Regions from separate parts of the Homo sapiens genome. Here region 2 is linked to region 1. The links are contacts of gene promoters, found by promoter capture Hi-C in blood cells and fetal thymus (Javierre and others, 2016). All regions are on one chromosome and are shown on one strand. Each heading gives the region's core, a stretch centred on a gene start or on the middle of the fragment in contact. The rest is flanking DNA. Distances are from core to core; before and after follow the strand shown. Region 1 holds the start of PRPS1 (phosphoribosyl pyrophosphate synthetase 1). Region 2 holds the start of FRMPD3-AS1 (FRMPD3 antisense RNA 1).

Evidence for each region. Contacts are between HindIII fragments. The CHiCAGO score rates a contact against its expected background, and 5 or more counts as called.
Region 2: the fragment with the promoter of FRMPD3-AS1 here is called in contact with the fragment with the promoter of PRPS1 in region 1 in 1 of 17 cell types (megakaryocytes); the score reaches 5.1 in megakaryocytes.

The regions. Positions count from the first base shown.
Region 1 is chrX:107,626,944-107,633,446 of GRCh38, forward strand. It overlaps PRPS1 (phosphoribosyl pyrophosphate synthetase 1), which reads left to right and starts at 1,567. Exons shown (of 7, transcript NM_002764.4): 1 at 1,567-1,807. The coding sequence starts at 1,686. RefSeq lists silencers at 1,405-1,454, 6,284-6,386. The HindIII fragment of the contact is 4,384 bases long and covers 1-2,036 here.
Region 2 is chrX:107,540,014-107,547,398 of GRCh38, forward strand. It overlaps FRMPD3-AS1 (FRMPD3 antisense RNA 1), which reads right to left and starts at 5,808. Exons shown (of 2, transcript NR_046750.1): 1 at 5,702-5,808. It overlaps FRMPD3 (FERM and PDZ domain containing 3), which reads left to right. Exons shown (of 15, transcript NM_001388459.1): 5 at 5,724-5,828. The HindIII fragment of the contact is 5,600 bases long and covers 2,405-7,385 here.

The DNA of each region.
Region 1 (6,503 bases), core at 317-2,816:
CACAACACTTATTGCCATTTGACATACTATGCATTTTGCTTATTTACATGTTTATTGTTTGAGAATGTAAACTCCATGACAGCAGGGTATTTTTAATTGTTTACTAATGTATTCTTGTGCCAATACACAGGGCCTAGCACATAAAGAATGTTCACTAAATATTTATTGAATGAACGAATCCCTTGGGGCAAATACTTTGTAGTCCCCTCAACGCCTTGCACACTGCCTTGCATGCAATAGAACACTCAGTAAATATTTGATGAATGGCCTATGATGGAAGACTACTAATATTCTGCCTTGCAGTTTACTTCCTTCTCCAAGTATTCCTATATACATGGGCCTACATTAAATTTCTGAGCTTGTAAAAGTGCAAAAAAGGTCAGAAGGAGAAGTCCTCCATGGACACTGCTGAAAATAGCAGTAAGACAAAGACAGGATGCTGCTTTGAGTATTTTCTGCCTTTGCCACTTAGATAAATCCCTCTCCCACCTCCATCTCAGTTTTATCATATGTAAAACGACTATATGATCTCTGAGGTCCCTTCTATTTTTACATTTGGTAGTTATGAGCACTATGGTCACTTTTGATTCCAGAATTGTATGATTTTTATCTTCTCCTAACCCATGCTTAAAATATGCTTAATGGAAACATGGTGCAAGAATAAAGGCTCACTTAGGTCCAATTAACAAGTATCGCTATAAAAATAATAAAACATGGTGTAAAAGGCCACATTAGCAACATGTAGCTGATGACATTGAGGCTTACATGAGGCAGACAGGACTAAAACCCAGGTTTTTTCAAATCCCTTCAGGGCTCTTTATCTGAAGTCCCATAGAACACTATACTTTCTTTCCTTTCCGAGGGCTATAAAAGTTAGATCTTTATTGTCCAGATAGTTTGGAAAATCCATCTTCCTTCACTTGTTTCAACATACTTGGTTCCAGCACTAGAAACAAAACAACTTTCTCTTGCAGTGTCTCTTGGATGATTCAGGTGGCATGCCTTCAGTCACTTCCCCCATGTAAACTGTCTTGCAGGCAAAGGCGACACTGCAATTACAATGGGCAAGCAAACTCCTTGCATGCACGTCTGTGATGTAAAAGTGTTTTAATTCAGCCCCATCCTTATAAAGAGATAAAAAATGTGTTCAGAAACATGCAAACTCGTGGCTGTCATCCTGATAAACAGATTTTCTTAAAGGAAACTGTAAACCAGAGCCAGACTTACTTTCCTGCGCTGAGGGAGGGGAAATAAAAAAGCAGGCATGGTTGATTTCCCGCTAGCGGGAACGATCTGGCCTCAGACGTCACCAGCATCCCTCCACCCCCAGTCCAACGTCTCCTGTCCCCAACAGCCTAGCTACAGGGGGCCGGGCTATGGGTTAGTCTCGCCCCCGTTCATGCTCTTCACCCAATACCTGAGAGAATCGGAAGGAGGCAGAGCTACACCGAGGACCAAACCCCGCCCTTCGCTCCCTCTTAGCTAATCGTTGCCAGCGGGGTGTGGACTTCGCCGCTGACCCCACCTCCGCCGCTTTGGGTAATTTAGAGCCGCGCGCCGGGCGGGAATGTAAGATGGCGGAGTAGCAACGCAAAGCGCTTGGTATTGAGTCTGTGGCCGACTTCGGTTCCGGTCTCTGCAGCAGCCGTGATCGCTTAGTGGAGTGCTTAGGGTAGTTGGCCAGGATGCCGAATATCAAAATCTTCAGCGGCAGCTCCCACCAGGACTTATCTCAGAAAATTGCTGACCGCCTGGGCCTGGAGCTAGGCAAGGTGGTGACTAAGAAATTCAGCAACCAGGAGACCTGGTAAGGACCAAGTTGGGACCCTGACTAGACCTCACCTGCCCAGGCGGCAGAGTATAGGAGGGATGGGGTCGCCGCTTGAGCTCAAACAGACTGGGGGTTGGGGGGAGAGGGTGCAGCTCTGTGACTAGCCTACCCCACGGGCTGTTTCCGTTATTTTACCTCTCGCGGGAGGGTCACGTTCATTCTTACCGTGCGGTGGGGTGGAGTCAAAAGATGGAGTGTGAGGCGAAGCTTCTGCGTTTGAGGGCAAGGGCTGGGGGACCCAATAGATAGTGGCTGCATAGAGCGACGAGAGGGGACCGACGCTTAGCCAGGGCGGTAGGGACACGTGGCTTGGCTTTGCTGTTGAGCCACCCAGGCTGGACTGGGTTGCTTCAGCTCTTAGACTAGCTTGCATTTAGAGAGCCTACCTGCGTACTGAGCTCTCCTGGTCTTTCTTTTCCTAGAGTCCAATAAGCAGCTTTTTGATTCGAAATGGTGTTGGTCCGTTCGGCTTGGTGTTGAGGGAAACTGACATTATATACTGCAGGCGCCAAAATTATTACGACTTCCCTTAGATCAGCAAGCGTTGGCTTTTCTCATCTTATGAATCATCTACCTGAGTAATTGGAGCCATAAATCTAGTTGATTTGTTAAAGTGATGCGTTGACTCTGCATCCTTGATAGCCAGCATCTCAGCTTGAGCCATCCAAAAAATCTTGGAAATCTCAATTCTGGAATGTTTGACCTTCCCCAGTGCAGCTAGTGGTACAGATAATGCAAAAGCGTATTTTTCAGTAACCGAGTCCATCCTGGACTTGGCTCCTTCTTTAAGCTCTGTGTAGGGAATTTAGGAAACAATTTTATACCTGAATGTTAAAGATAATTGAGGACAGGCAATGTAGTGGAAGACTAGGATTGGACAGTGCATTGCAACTTGCGTTTTTTCCATTGCCTTGCCAGTAAAACTTGCTTCCTCGACTCCGACTTACACCCTCTACCGGCACCATGGGACTGTTTTAGAGATGACTTGGTTACCTGATTATTTCAGTGCCCCTTCCACCTAAGTGTGGGATCTTTAGTTTCTGATAGGTGTAATTTGTATTTTATTGTTACCCTATCGATTAAATCAGAGCCCTGCCCACAATCTTACAGATTTGTTAAGGGGAAAGTTTTCACCTAATAATCAGATAAGAATATTTCGAATATTTTTTCCTAAATGTTTTTGCTTACTTTTTTGCTTTCTTTGGACTGATTTCCAAGTTTAACTCGCCTTATCTCTTTTAGACCCAGCTGATAAAGTAATGTCACCGATAATGGACAGCTTCTTCCCGAATTATTGTGCTACTGATTGTGATGCAAATGATAGTGTAAACATTGCCATCTGTAACCAGGCAATACCTTAGTTAAAAGAGGCTTACAAACTGCTGTCTTTAGATTTTTCCAAACCATTATGGCTCATGGGCCTTAATAAAGAATACAAAACAGGACTAGACTTTGTGATTGGCAATATAGTTAGGGGACAAGAATGTTTTTCATTTAGAGGTTTTCTTTGGCCCCTGTGGATATTTAATCCTTTTCCTATGCGTCTAGGAAAAATGTGAAGGCATGAAAGCTTTATTTTCTCCTTGTGTTAATCCTTCTGCCCTCTGCATAATGCAGCACCCCAGAACCTGAGGCTATATTGGGAGAGGAGAGGGGGAGGACAACTTAGTTTTCTACTGATTGATTTCTATTAAGTCCAACATGGATAATTGCTGACTGGTTAGATTTTCTTGTTTCTGGCTTAATCATTAGCTTCTTGTTTCCTAGATATTCTGAAATCTTCATTGAACATAATCACATTTTTTTTTATGGAGTTCCCCCTATCTTTGTTTTTCCTATACTGAAGAAATGGTAACTGCTCCCTATAACTGCTCCCCCAGGTGACTCTTGGTTGATGCTCTCTTGAGCAGAGTAGCTTTTCTTCTAACATAAGGATCATCCTTGGCTGTCTGGTTATTTAGGAAACACACACACACACACACACACACACACACACACACGGAGGGGGTGGGTGTTAAAAGTGCTGAAATCAGAGAACTTGGATCTGAATCCTTAACCTTTCTTTGCCCCAATAATCTAATCTGTAAAGTAGTACCTACCCATACTGTTGTTATGAGGATTAAATGAGATAGAAGTAAAGTTCTTAGGATCTTGTCCAAAACATAATAAGTACAACAGTAAATGTTGACAAGAAGGGGTGGTGATAATATTGCAGAAAATGTGGAAAATTTAGAACACGGAAGGGAGAAGATATGCCTCTTAATTCTGCCACCTGACATAAATGTCACATTATCATTTCTGACCTCCCAGATATTTGTGTAAGATACACTTTTTCAAGAATGTTTAATACATTTATAGCTCTCTTCACTTAGCAATATATTTTGAACAGTTTCTCCCTTTAATATTTAGTATATATGATTTTCTTTTTTTATTATTAAAGATTTTAATTTATTTTTTAGAGATGAGGTCTCACTATGTTGCCCAGGCTGGAGTCCAATAGCTACTCACAGGCACAATCATAGCACACTGCATCCTCAAACTCGCGGGCTCAAGTGATCTGCCTGCCTCTGCCTCTCAAGTAGTTGAGAATACAGGCATGCACCACTGAGGTGGGCTAGTTCATGTAATTTTAAATAGCTATATAGTCTTACCTTATGGTTATGCCATAATTTTATATAACCAAATTCTTATTGGACATTTCCAGTTTTTGATCTAATGCTTTTATATGAAAATCCATGAACATAAATCTTTGACCATTTCTGATTATTTCCTTAGAATAAATCCCTAGGAAGGTAATTATTAAGTTAAAGGGTAGATACCATTTTTCAGGCTTTTGATACCTGTTGCCAAATTATTCCCCAGAAAAGTTGAACAAATCTGTCTCATCAGCAGTAATACAATATTAATAATATTTATTTATGTATTTATTTTTTGAGACGGAGTTTCACTCTTACTGCCCAGGAGTGCAGTGGTGCGATCTCAGCTCACTGCAACCTCCGCCACCCAGGTTCAAGCAGTTCTCCTGCCTCAGCCTCCCGAGTAGCTGGGATTACAGGCACGTGCCACCACGCCCAGCTAATATTTTGTATTTTTAGTAGAGACAGGGTTTCACCATGTTGGCCAGGCTGGTTTCAAACTCCTGACCTCAGGTGATCCCCCACACCTTGGCCTCCCAAAGTGCTGGGATTATAGGTGTGAGCTACCGTGCCCGGCTATAATATTTAATGTATAGTGAATGCCTAAGATGTGCTAGTTTCCATGCTAAGCATTTAGTATACATTGTGTTTAATCCCCTCAAAACTGCTATGAGGAATAACTCTTACTATCCCTATTTTACAGAGAAGAGAACTACAGTAAGATGCAGAGTAACTTGCCCAGCTCTGGGTATTATTGTTCCTTTAAATTTTTGCTGACAAGATCTCTCACCTGGCTTTAAAAACTTAGATATTCTAAAATTTTGACTCTATTCTCTTCAATATTTGTAAATAACTTTGGTTTATTTGGTTATTCTGTACTAGCTGAGAGGAGGAAGACTTGAACTTTGGTTGCCTAGGGTTTTCCTGAGAACTGTATCTTCTGGTTGTGGTTAGTTAATCCCATGTATTTTGCACATGCCAATATCTCCATAATCTAAATTCTTCAGATTTTCTTAAGACTACTATCCACCTTTTAGATTCACTTTTGGTGTTTCCTGACATTCCATTTCAATTGGATACACTTATGCCTGACCTTAAAGGAAAGGGAAAAGAGAAGCTAGTTTTTTCACTCATTGGATAGACATAGCCAGTCTTCTGGCCTCACCAAAACAGCTGAGAGAATGATTGGCCCAAAGCCATTTGGAGAACACTCCATTAACTAGAGGGAGAGAACAAGGAGTATTACTCTCTAAATTGCTGAATTAGGTTTTTCCACTTAATAGATTATGTTAGGAGCAAACAGGTTTTAGGCACAAATATTCTTCTCGATCACTGCCATAACTTAGAAGAAGCCATAAGAATAAGGTTAAGATTTTTAGAGGACTTGTTGAACCAAGCTGTATAATCAGAGTGCAATTCACGGACTTTTTAAGACTTTGTCAAACAAAGTCTGTATGTTATAGTACTACTATAGGGAAAGATTGGTTTTAATAAGTGAAATTAGAATTATACACATTAAAACAAGGCAGTATCACCTAGTTTACTTGCACCACCTTATTTTATTTATGTATTTGCTTTCTAAGTTTCTCTACTTTTATTTCATTTTTGTAAGATCTTTTCAAAAGCCCCACATTTTTTAAACAGTTAAATAACCTTTTCAAGTTATTAGATACATGCCTTATAACAAACACCTTCTATGCTGAAGGTAGCTTTTAATTTTAAAAAGTTTGAGCCGGGTGCGGTGGCTCACGTCTGTAATCCCAGCACTTTGGGAGGCCGAGGCGGGTGGATCACGAGGTCAGGAGATCGAGACCATCCTGGCTAACACGGTGAAACCCTGTCTCTACTAAAAATACAAAAAATTAGCTGGGCATGGTGGCAGACGCCTGTAGTCCCAGCTACTCGGGAGGCTGAGACAGGAGAATGGTGTGAACCCAGGAGGCGGAGCTTGCAGTGAGCTGAGATCCTGCCACTGCACTCCAGCCTGGGCAACAGAGCGAGACTCCATCTCAAAAAAAAAAAAAAAAAAAAGTTTG
Region 2 (7,385 bases), core at 4,558-7,057, 83 kb before region 1:
GTGGGTCCAGGAATGATAACAAGCCCAGTGTGTGCAGGGAGCTGTGGATAGAACTACCAAGTGCAGCAAAAGGTGATCTTGGAGAGAGGTGGTTAGAGAGTCAGGTGTAGTTTGTGGCGGGCTTTGGAAGTCAGGCAGAGGATATGTTCATGTCCAGGCAGTCTTGAGTGTGGGAAGGAAGGCCCCCTGGTTCCCCTAGTAGTGATCTGGTGAAACCAGGATGGTCCTCCATTGTCCTAGGCTCCCACAGTGGTTGCTATAGGAATTGGTTATAAGTAGGCTCAGGTGTCAAAGGCAGTGTAGCCAGAAGGGCAAATCAGTCAAAGCTTCAAGAAGCTGAGTTTCGTTTTTTTTCAGTTACCAAAGCGGGGCCCTATCTTGTTCTAAAATATTTGGCCCTATATCTGACTTTGGTCAAGATTTGAGTGATCACAACCCTGACATCTGTACTAATACAGACAACAAATTTAAAAAATGGTCAAAAAATAACCAGCTGCTGAATTCTGCACTGAGGGAAAGGCAGACTCTCTTCTATTCCTTATTCCACCAAGCTGCTGGCTTCATATTTGCTTCAAGCAGCTTGCAGTGGCCCCAGAGGTACTTAGCAATTCTAGTCCCATGTTTCAAGCCAAAATTCATTTTAGCCAGAAAGGGTGCCTGTTGCAAAGTGAGATTCCCAGCTGCTTGGAGAAAAAAATAGGGTCAGTGAAGAGCTCAAACATTCCAGCCTTAAGGTGCTCAATTAATCTATGCTTAATGGATTGGGATCTCTTCAACAATGTCAATTTCTGGGCCCCACTCTTCCAGAGATTCTAACTTTTAAAATCTGGTGTGAGCCTAGGCATCTGTGCTTTAACAAGCACTCCTCAGTGATTCTTATCATCAGGCACGTTTTAAAAACAGCTGGTTAGTGCATGGTTATGAATTAGTGCAGAGGTTGGCAAACTGTTTCTCTGAAGGGCCATATAATAAGTATTTTAGGCTTTGCAGGCCATATGTGGTAGCACAAAAGCAGCCATAGGCAATACATAAATGAAGATCACGGCTGTGTTCCAGTAAAGCTTTATTTACAAAAACAGGTGGTGAGCAAGATTTGGCCTATGTAGGCCTGTAATTTGCTGGCCCCTGAAGTGTATTATGCCTTCCTGCTACCGCATTCACATTTTGACCCGGGCCTTCCCAATTCTCAACATTGTAATTCAAAGGAGTGCCCCTAATATTACGAACTTCAAGCCCCAGAGCTGAGCTTTGAAGATGCTTTGGGACACGGAGGCCTCTGAGAGGCTCCTCATATCACACTGCAAAGCAGGCCTCACCTGTGTCTGAGCATAAGGCTAGATGTGACTCCATGACATCTAGCACAGACCAGCTGGCAATGAATGAGTCACCAGCATCAAGGCTGAAGACTGAGAATAGGATGGAATCTTAGAGACCAACAGGACAAGGGTCAATGAGGACTGAAGTATAAACAAGCTGAAAATAACTCTGAAACAGACACCTGGAAATGATTATAATCCCTGAAAATATTGGCAATTTCATTTCCTCCTTTGTGGTTTGTGCCTATAATTAACTGAATCTTTGGTTTTCAGTGGTACAAACAGAAACTCTCTAGGACAGGATCTAATCTTGCATCTTTGGTAGGGATAGCAAGGATGCCACCCTCTTCACTGTGGTGAATACATAAAAGGATACCAGTTGGGGTTCTTCATTTGTTTGAGTCCATTACATAACACCAAGGTAGAACCAGAACCAGTGGATGAAAGATCAGGAAAGGACTCCCAGCTTTAGCCTGCTGTGGGGGAACAACCACTAAGCAAAGGCTCAGGAAACCTGGGTTCTGGTTTCGGCTCTGCTACTCAATTATTTCAATACTTTGGGTAAAGTATATCCTCTTCCCAGGCTTCTGTTTCACATGTGAAAAATGAAGGTTGAGCTGCATGGCCCATTCAGGTCTCTAGAGATGCCTCGTTCTACACACTGTGCCATGCAGGCATCTGAGGGCAGATGATGGCAGAGAAGAGAGGTGACTGTCAGGTAGAAAGATTCCACTTGCCTCATGTTTGTGGCACCTTGGTGGAACTTTGGATGACTGTGGAGATGGAATCAAACACAGCTGCCTGAGCATAGCTACAGATCTTTCTATCTTGCCCCTTTCTCTTGCTTCTGCCTCAGCCTGCAGCCCCTGCTCAGGATTGGAGCACCAGGCTGTGCAACACACAAAGGCATTTATCAACTCCATGTATAATCAATACTGTAATCACTTTCTGCAGTGATCTCCAGCTCTGGATTTCATTGTGCTATATTGTCTGCTGCCAACAAATTGCCCCTTTGGCTCAGGATGAGAAGTCTAAGGTTCCTTTAGCTCAATGGTTCTTAATCTTGGCTGCATTTGGAAATCATCAGAAGCTTGAAAAAAATACTGATGCTCAGACCTCACCCCCAGGAATTCTGATGTAATTGGTCTGTGGTGGGCCCTGGGCTTCAGGATTTTTAAAAGCTCCTCCCAGCATTTCTACTATGCAGCCAGGACTGACACTCACTGCCTGAGTTCCTGCTGGACTCAGGTGAAAGAAGTGGTTTTTTGCAATCTCCCCTCTGTGGGAATGAGATTGCTGGCTCTGACAGAGCCAGCTGGGACCAGGGCCCAAGACACAATGAGGACGTTTGTTTCTGATGTGTATCTTAGGGCCCTGCCCTCCTGTGGCTGATTGGGTAAATGAATCTCAACTGCAGTGTAAATGGTAGATAATAGCTTAACGTATTCCCAGCTGGCAGGGACCTTCAGGGCCTTAACACAAAGAAATTCCTGATTGTAGGACTCAGGCTCCATGGCAAGGCCCATAGGGGTGGTGGTTTGAAGTAGCCCCAAACCTGATTCACTCCCTAGTCCTCTTCATCTCAGTAAATGGCAAGTCCATTCTTTCAGTTGAAGTCTCTCTTTTTCTCACTCTCATATCCAATCAGTCAACATATCATCCTAATTCAGTATTCAAAATATATCCAGAATTCATTCACTTTTCAACTCCATCAGTACCATCCTAGCCCAAGCCTCCATTATGTTTTAACCATATTATTGCAGTTACAAATATTGTACTTAGAGACCCCCAACTGGTCTCCATGCTCTTGCCATTGCCCTTCTACACTCTGTTTTCCACACAGCAACCAGAGGCTTCCTTTTAAAATGCACATCAGACTCTGTTCAATCAAATCCCTCTAGTGGAGTGAAATCCAAAGTTCTCACCGTGGTTTACAAGGTCCTACATGACCCAGCCCCCAGCTGCCTCTCTGAGCATCTCCCCTCTTGCTCCCCCTCCATCACGCCACTCCAGCCACCTTGGCCTTCCTTGCTGTTCTTCATACACCTCAATTCACTTCAGGGCCTTTACTGTAGTTTCTGCCCAGAAGCCTTTCTCCAGATAACCTGGTGGCTGTCTCTCCCTCACTTCCTTAAGTTTCTGCTTAATGTCTCATCCTCAGAGAGGTCTTCCCTGACCATCCTGTCTAAAATAACCTCCCCCAGTGGCCGGGCGCCGTGGCTCATACCTGTATCCCAGCACTTTGGGAGGCCGAAGTGGGTGGATCACTTGAGGTCAGTAGTTCGAGACCAGCCTGGCCAACATGGTGAAACCCCGTCTCTACCAAAAATACAAAAATTAGCTGGGCATGGTGATGCCTGCCTGTAATCCCAGCTACTCGGGAGACTGAGGCAGGGGAATCACTTGAACCGCGGAGACAGAGGTTGCAGTGAGCCGAGATCGCACCACTGCACTCTAGCCTGGGCGACAGAGCAAGACTCCTTCTCAGAAAAAAAAAAAAAAAAAATTAAAAATATAACCCGCACAATCCTACTTGTGGATATATATCCAAGGGAATTGAAATTAGTATGCCAAAGAGCCATCTGCATTCCCATGTTCGTGGCAGCACTATTCACCATAGCCAAGATAGGGAAACAACCTAAGTGTCTGCCATCAACAGATGAATGGATGAAGAAAATGTGGTATAAATACACAGTGGAATACTATTCAGTCTTTAAGAAGAAGTAAATCCTGTCATTTGCTACAACATGGATGAACTTGGAAGACATTATCCTAAGTGAAATAATAATAATAATTATTATAAGCCAGACACAGAAAGACAAATACCACATGATCTCACTTACATGCGGAATCTAAAAAAGTCAAAATCATAGAAGTGGAGCATAGAATGGTGATCACTAGAGGCTAAGGTTGGGAGGGAGTGGGGAGATGCTGTTCAAAGGATACAAAGGCTCAGTTAGACAGGAGGAATAAGTTTTTGAGATCTATTGCACAGCATGATGACTATAGTTAATAATAATGTATTATGTATTTCAAAATTGCTAAAATAATACCCTCACTACTCCCACTCTAACTCACTCATTCTCTTGTGTAGTCCTTTACCCTGCCTTATTTTTCCTCAAAGTCCTTCTTTGCTACCTAAAAGATATTTATCGTCTGTCTATTCCTGCTGGAATGGATGCTCCATGAGGCCAGGGAGTTTTGTCTGTCTTATTCACTGCTCTATCCCTCATCACCTAGAACAGTGTGTGGCATGTAGTAGGCCCTTGCTAAATTTGTCAAAAGAATGAATAAACGCCCCCCCAAAGACAATGAGGATGCCCCTCAGCACGACTCCTGTATTCCTAATTGCTGGGCCTTACAGAGCTCAGCAGGGAGCTAGAATCCAAGGGGCACCCAGGAAAGGCTTAGTTTCCAGTGTTTGCTAATCATGCTTCTGATAAAATTGTGGGAGAGTTTTCAAGAACTAAAAAGCCAGCCAGGCATGGTGGCCTGTAAGCCCAGTACTTTGGGAGGCTGAGGCAGGTGGATCACCTAAGGTCAGGAGTTCAAGACCAGCCTGGCCAACATGGTGAGACCCCATCTCTACTAAAAATACAAAATTAGCTGGGTGTGGTGGCACATGACTGTAATCCCAGCTACTCAGGAGGCAAGGCTGGAGAATCGCTTGAACCCAGGGAGCGGAGGTTGCAGTGAGCCGAGATTGCACCATTGCACTCCAGCCTAGGCGACAAGAGTGAAACTCCGTCTAAAAATAAATAAATAAATACAAGCCTGGCTGATTTTTTGGGCATTTCTTACAGAATTGGATAAACAAAGTGGTGCAGAGCCCAAAACTAGAAAGCCAGAAGACTTGGGTTAAATCTCTCACATCTCTATTCCCCAATAGTGTAGTAACTGTGGATAAATCCTTTTGGAGTGCTAGGTCTCCTTTCTCCCACATCTAAAATAGTATTTATTATGCAACTCCTTCCTAGGGGCAGGACATGTCTGTGAGGTGAACAAGATCATTTCTGTAAATTATTTGGGATGCTTATATTCAGATATAATAATAATAATAAAAAGACACCCTTTAGGTCTATCTCACTGTAAGAAAACCAAATATATAAAAACTCAATGTATGTTATTACTAAAGAACTTTTGCAAACTCCCCTAGGCCTAGAGTATTAATAATGGGGTTCAATCTACCCAAATTCAATTCATGCCCAGCTGTTTCAGAACACACCAATTACATAGGGAAGCATTTAGCACATTGCCTTGCAACTAATAGGTAATTAATATTTGTTTATTGACTCCTTGATCAGTAATGCAAAGTGTACCTGTACTGGGACATCTTAACTCTGACGTGACAAAGGTTAGGCTTTCCCTAGATATGGAGAACTCACCATCTCTCTGTTCTTTTTCCAGTCCCCCAAATCTGCTTTCATCAGTGCTGCGAAGAAGGCCAAGTTGAGGTCCAATCCTGTGAAGGTTCGATTTTCTGAGCAGGTGGCAGTTGGAGAAACAGATGCAGTAAGTGTAGCTTTGGCTCCCTCTCCTCAGCCCCTGGCCATAATCTGCCTGGCTGTCAAGCTCTCGCTCTGGGGCTTCTTATAGTGGACAGCTTTCCGAATGGGTTAGAGTGGGAGCGTCCAGGTGCTGGAGGGGGAAAAGTAGTGAGTGAAGAGGGATACGTGACATCCAGAGAGGCCCCAGGCATTGTGGGGAGAAGGAATATATATTGATTCACTCAAGATCCTTCTGATGCTTAGAGAAATTTCCATCCCTAACACAGTAGCTTACACTCAAAGCAAGTGCTCCATAAACATCTTTTGCTACTTGATAGAAACAGGAAGGAAATAATGGCTTCCTGAAGACTCAGGGAATGAGTGGCTGGTGAAATTGAGCTCTCTTCACATTTAAGTGATCTTGCAACTCCACATCTTGACCAGAAAAGGCCATGCAGTGGTGAGTAAAGTTGCCTAAAGGAAATGATACAGACTCTCATTAAGTCACCAAGTTTTTATTAGGCACCTGCTATGTTCTTAGCACCAGAGGGGAGGCAAAATAAATACCTGTTCCCTGCTACCAGATACCTCTCAGCAATGTTGAGGGGGACAAGAGGTTCAGATTGAGACAATACAAAATCTACTACGGGGTGGTATTGTTTCGAAAGACAGGTAATATTTGACAGCCCATGCCATGCAGCTGCCAATTTGGGGAGTCTTGGCCAGCCACAGTGTTTCTCACTGCTTTGGGAGGTTTACATGCAGTGAACTGTCGGCTCCAGATGTGCAAATGAGAAGAGGCAGGTGAAGAGCAGAAAAGAAGTGTGTTAAGCAGTCATGCATTCTGGCCGAGTCCTTCAGGAATCTGCAGAAGTTAGTGATAACCTGGTGGGGACAGAGGGGATAGCTAGAGCTAACAGGCACTTGTGTGCTTTTGATAGCTGTGATGGGCAGAGCTGTCTGGAGGCCCTTGGCATTTACGTACTGAGGAACAGCCACAGTTGTTGGGAGAAGATAGCAGGCCCAGAGCAGGGAAATCAGCAGGGTGCCAGGCGCTTCTATATTATTTAAGGCAGAATTAGTGAGAAGAAGGTATAGAGGACACAGGTGTCTTCCATCTCCATTTCCCTGACTCTCATTCCCAAACTCAGTCTATGCCCTCCTCCATCTCTGCATGAGGAAGGCTGGCAAACCCAGGGGACTACAGGACCCCACTGGGCAAGCTGTCTGAATAATTGATGGTTGGGATCTGTGTCAATCCTAGAAGAAAAGTTTTAAGAGAAGTGATCATTGATGAGCAGAGGGGAAAAGGAGTAATATGGAGTCCCTGCAAATCAGGGTGAAACAGACCCCGAGGTCCAAGTCACCAGGAGGATATGTGTGTCCTGAATGCTTGAAAACCCAGAGGACGTATGACTTGGATTTGGTAAGTATGAACAGGCTTATCCTATGCCATCTCAACATTGCAGAGTAATCAGTCAAGGGCAGGCCACCCAGTGAAGAACTCCTTCCCTTCCTCCCCACTCCCCTCCCCTCTCTTCTCTTCCTCTCCCTTCTACTTCCCCTTCTCCACTTTCTCCTT